2 separate regions of the Homo sapiens genome follow, and region 1 is linked to region 2. The links are contacts of gene promoters, found by promoter capture Hi-C in blood cells and fetal thymus (Javierre and others, 2016). All regions are on one chromosome and are shown on one strand. The core of a region is centred on a gene start or on the middle of the fragment in contact, and the rest is flanking DNA. Distances in the headings are between cores, read along the strand shown.

The links. The method cuts DNA at HindIII sites, captures the fragments that hold promoters and counts their contacts. A CHiCAGO score of 5 or more calls a contact.
Region 1: a fragment that was not itself captured here is called in contact with the fragment with the promoter of ABTB2 in region 2 in 2 of 17 cell types (M2 macrophages and megakaryocytes); the score reaches 5.7 in M2 macrophages.

The regions. Positions count from the first base shown.
Region 1 is chr11:34,092,936-34,095,635 of GRCh38, forward strand. All of the region lies in intron 15 of CAPRIN1 (cell cycle associated protein 1), which reads left to right. Among named protein-coding and RNA genes, the nearest start is that of NAT10, 11 kb to the right of the region's middle. The HindIII fragment of the contact is 6,491 bases long and covers 1-2,700 here.
Region 2 is chr11:34,356,702-34,359,401 of GRCh38, forward strand. ABTB2 (ankyrin repeat and BTB domain containing 2) reads right to left here and starts at 1,309. Exons shown (of 17, transcript NM_145804.3): 1 at 1-1,309. The coding sequence starts at 882. RefSeq lists an enhancer at 235-344 and a silencer at 1,295-1,494. The HindIII fragment of the contact is 9,392 bases long and covers 1-2,700 here.

The DNA of each region.
Region 1 (2,700 bases), core at 1-2,500, 260 kb before region 2:
TCAAACTCCTGGGCTCAATGATCCTCCTCCCTCAGCCTCCTGAGTAGTTGGTAGTTGGGACTACAGGTGCTTACCGCCATGGCTGGCTAATTTTTTTTTTTTTTTTGTAGAGATAGGGTCTCCAGGAGCTCACTATGATGCCAGGCTGATCTCCAACTCCTTGCCTTGAGCGAACTTATTGTCTCTGTCTCCCAGAGTGGTGGGATTATGGGCATGAACTACCTTGTCTAGCTCGATAGAGATACTTTAGATTTTTTTTTATATATATATTTTTTTAAGAAATGGGGTCTCTGTCTGTTGCCCAGGTTGGAGTGCAGTGGTGTAATCAGATACTGGAGCCTTTAACTCTGGGGCTCAAATCCTGTACTGGAGCCTTTAACTCCCCACAAGTAGCTTGGACTGCAGGCTTTTCTCAAACTCAGGGCCTCCAGCAGTCCTCCCACCTCTACCTTATAGGCATGAGCCACCATGATGTCTTCTTTAGTTCTTTAATTCCTCAGAATTTAATTGGAATCCCACAACAAACCAGCAGTCAGAGGAGTTAATACTTTCATTTTGTCAGCCCGATTTTGAAAAGTTGTAAAATTTTCTAATTATTCAATTTCTTGGTAAACTTGGATCAGCATTAGATTTTTCAGTAGTAAATTCTTACACATCCTGTAGTATTCAGTATCACTAATATGAAGCTCGAATCTTCCATACTCTGATAGAAGTTATCAGTTATACTATGCTCAGCTTCCAAATGATAAAAACTAGTGGTGTGATCACCATGGCTCACTGTAACCTCTGCTTCTGGGTTCAAGGGATCCTCCTACCTCAGTCTCCCAAGTAGCACAGGCCACCATGCCTGGCTAATTTTTTTTTTTTTTGTATTTTTAGTAGAGAGAGGGTTTCACCATATTGTCCAGGCTGGTCTCGAACACCAGTCACATACGCAGCAAGTTCTCTTTAATCTCAGGGCCTTCATACTTACTTTCCTTCTTGCCGAAAACTTTCTCCCACTGATAAGTACATGGATTGCTTTTTCTATTTTTTTAAAAAAAGTTCATTTGTTTATTTTTAATTGAGAAGTAGAAACTATATATATGTGTATTTATGGTATACAGCATGATGTGTTGAAATGTGTGTCCGTTGTGGGCGGGCTTCATGGCTGGCACCTATAATCCCAGCTACATTTGAGGCTGAGGTGGCAGGATTGCTTGAGGCCAGGCGTTCATGATGAAATAATATGTATACATTGTGGGCCGTTGTCCAGTGCAGTGATGCAGTCTCGGCTCACTGCAACCTCCGCCTCTTAGGTTCAATCGCTTGGGTTCAAGCGATTCTCCTGCCTCGGCCTCCTGCCTCAGGCCTCAGGTGATCCACCCGCCTCGGCCTTCCAAAGTGCTGGGATTACAGGCGTGAGCCACCATTCCCGGCCTGATATTTGTTGAAGAAATCATTTCAGTATGTCCCATCATTTTAGAAATTTTATTTTGAATTAGTGTCTAATCAGGAACAACATGACAGAATCTTTGGCTTTTTAAAATGGCCTACAAGTTTATACTTTACCAAAATTTAAGTAGGAATTTGGGTATTTTAAAATAAAATGAAGGCTGGGTGTGGTGGCTCACGCCTGTAATCCCAGCTCTTTGGGAGGCCCACTTGAGACCAGGAGTTTGAGACCAGCCTGGGCAACACAGAGCCCCACCTCTATAAAATAAATACAGAAATTAGCAGGGTGAGGTGGTGAATGCCTGTAGTTGTAGCTACTCAGGAGGCTAAGGCCGGAGGATCACTTGAGCCCAGGAGTTCAAGGTTGCAGTGAGCCAAGATTATTTGACTGAACTCCAACCTCAGCAGTACTGGGTGAGAGAGCTAGACCTTGTCTTAAAAGTGAAAATTAAATAAAATAAAGATCACACTTAAGTTATTATGCTGTGAGTTTCTTCCTTTCTTTCCTTTCCTTTTTCCTTTCATTTTTTGAGACAGAGTCTTGCTCTTGTCTCCCAGGCTGGAGTGCAGTGGTACGATCTCGGCTCACTACAACTTCTTCCTTCCAGGCTTAAGCCATCCTCTCACCTCAGCCTCCCAAGTAGCTGGGACCACAGGCATGCACCACCATGCCTGGCTAATTTTTTGTATTTTGTTGTTGTTGTTGTTGTTGAGATGGGGTCTCACTGTGTTGCCCAGCTGGTCTCAAACTCCTGAGCTCAAGTAATCTGCTCAGCTTGGCCTCCCAAAGTGCTGGGATTACCAGTGTGAGCCACTACACCCAGCCTGGCTATGAATTTCTTACAGTGAGATTTGATCAAGATTAAAAGCTGTTATTGATAAAATGATTCTAAAATTCAGTTCTTTTGGCTACTTTGTACATGGATACACATGAACCATTTTACAAGGAAAATGTTATGTGTATTTGTCATTCACTTACAATTTTAAATTTTGGGAATATAATAAAAGGCAATCTATGTAAAAAGATGACACCGATGTAGTTGGTTTACTAAGTAATTCAAGAGGAGCAGTGGCTCTCTCTTTTTCTCTAGGTATTCCCTAGTGCTTTCATCGTAAAATAGGATTCTAACAACTATTAATGTATTTGGAGTTTCTTAAGGGTGTAAAATAGGTCAAGTAAAGATTTTCAAGAGTCATACAGCTGCTTTTCTCTCTGCCCCAAAAGGGGAGATTTGGGTTGGCCAGCAGCTTCTGACCCTTGTTGTT
Region 2 (2,700 bases), core at 59-2,558:
ATTGGCGTTCTTGCCGCAGATGAGATGCTCATAGGGCTGCAAGACGCCCCAGAGCTCGGCGTCGTTGTTGATGACCATCTCCAGGGCCTCAGCAGACACCTCCCCGCCTCCGGCCCCTCCGCCATCAGGGCTGTGGCTGGCCATCACCCTGGCCCGGATCTCCTCCACCAGGTTCTCCATGCAGGCGGTGAGGGAGATGGCTGCGTACTCGTGGATGCGCACGGAGATTCGGGTGTCCACCATCCAGCGGAAAAAGCGACCCACTGAGAAGGTGAGGCCGCAGCGCGCGGACTTGCCCCGGCGCAGCCCGTCGCCGGCGCTCATGCTGTACAGGGACAGCGCCTTGACGGCTGCCAGCGCGCAGCTCTCGGCCAGCGCCCAGCTGTGCACCAGGCGCACGGCGCTCTGCACCTCAAAGCGGGTGCACTTGGCGTGCAGCACGCTCAGGCGCTGCGCCTCGCGGGCCACGCGGATCAGTGCCCTGCGGAGCAGCCCGGCCAGGCGCCTCACCGCCTCGGCGGAGAACTGGGGCAGCCGCCGGCCGCCAGCGCCTTTGCGGAGCACCCGGGCCACGTCTCCTTCGGTCCAGGGGAACTCCTCCAGCTCGGGGAGCCGCGGACAGCGCGAGAAGAGGTCGGCCACTTCGGGGTCCTCGGGCAGCACCGTGTTCACCGTGTCCCAGCTGTTGTGGCGGCTGTTCATGGAGCCGGAGTAGCACCACCAGGCCGCCCCGCGGTGCTGCTGCGCCGAAGAGTTGAGCGCCTGCGAGTTGGACTTGGAGGACGAGAGGCTGAGCGAGCGGCACGAGTCCCCGGCCCCATACCCGGAGTCCAAGGTCAAGTCCTCCAGCGTCTTCAGAGTCGAGCTGTACGTCCCGGCCATGGGGAGCCTGCCGAGGGCGGCGTCGCCGAGCGAGGGGCACTCACAACTCCATGCCCTCTTTCCCAAGTGGGCAGAAACAAGCTCTAGGCCCTCCGGGCCACCCTCCTTCCTCTCTGCGTCGCGGGGCTCGGCGGCCGCATTGCCTGCCCGGAGGCCGCGGGAAGGTGGCCGAGATCCGTGGCCAGCAGGAGCCCCACGCTCCCGGCGTCCCGACTCGCAGCTGCCACTGGAAAGAACCCCGTCGCTACCCCCCGGCACTCCCCCTTGTCCACCTCTAATTCCCACAAGCAGAGAGTCAGTCCTCCACAGAGAAGGAATCCCGGGAGAACAGGGCGGCGGCGGCAGAAGGAGGAGGCGGCGGCGCAGGGCGCAGGGCGCAGCGCGAGTCCGGGACCAGCCGGCGAGAAAGCGCTCTGCAAACTTCTGCGCTGCGCCGGCCGGCAGCACAGCTGGGTACCCGGCTGCGTCCGACATGCAAATAACCCCGGGCGGCTTACCAATCACCGGCCGCGATGGGCGGGGCTGCACCAATGATCTCCGAGGGGGCGGTCACTATGCAGATTTCACTCTGCCTCGGGTTAAACCCCGCGGCGAAGGAGGCGGGGCTGGAGGCCGAGGGTCGGGCACGCGGCTGGGATGGGGGTGGGGATGGGGGGGGATGGGGGGGATGGGGGGGTGGGGGAAGGGCGAGCCAGCCAACTGGGAGGTGGAGGTGGAGACCGGAAAGCAGCGGTCGAAACGATAGCTCCGGAGCTCACGATTTAAAGAAAAATGCAAAGGAAAAGCTACAGGGCGCTGCCACCTTCCCGCCACCCAGGCTTTGGGCGTTCGCTGCTCGCTTTCGAGCCCTCCGCAGCCAGGCGTCCTGGGGTTGGGGCCAGGAGAATGGGGAGGGCCCCATCCAGGCGCTCCACCTCTCCTCCACCTTCCGCCAGGCCCCTCCCGCAATCCGAGATGAAACGCTGGCTGTGTTTGGAGGGAGGAGGGAGTCCCTGCCTCTCTTTCCAAGTCCGTCTGGTTCCTTTGCGCTGCCGTCTAGGCTCCAATAAGGACAGAATTTCTTAACCTGGTATCTGATCAATGGACGGGCCCCAGGAAGCCTGTGAGTGCCTCCGCCCATTTGTGGTTTCACCTGCAGTTTTCTGAGTGCCACTATGGGGAAGGGGCACCAACTTTTGTCAGATTCTCAAGAGGATCCGTGACTTCCCTGTTACCTCTGTGTGACGATACCACTTGCTGTCAGGTGGGTCCTTTTTGTCCGAGATAGACAGTGTTCTTACAGGAAGAATGAGAAGAAGGTGGCAGAGCAGTCCCTCGCCCTGGGCTGAGCTCGGAACACCTAGCTGGATGCAGGTGTTCGCCTCCTAACGCGTGCCGGTGGGCGAGCCGTATGCCCCCGCGGGACCCAGTTCCTCCGGGGTACAATGAGTGGCTGACCTCCAGGCAGCGCCAGTGCCAACCTGCCTCCGGGCGGGTGTCCCAAACGGTCCGCCAGAGCGCTGTTGGTTCAGCAGTCCCATGCCCGGTGCAGGCATGTCCCGCCGCTGCCCTGTGGCTACTCACACGCACGTGCGCAAACGGACCTGTGCCCCCTCCAGTGGAACCGCAGGCTCAAGGCGGGGATTGTGCATTCGCTCTCCCCAAGTCAGCCTCCCCCACTCCTGAATGGCTCCTTTGTGTTGCATTTTACACAGTTCTGACCTTGGGCCGTGAGTTGGATATGAACTAGAAATGTCTGGTTTGTCTCTTTCCTTCTTAAATTAATGGCCTTTACCCCCGGTGAAACTGCTTTTTATTTGGCAGTTTCGCTTAATTTTG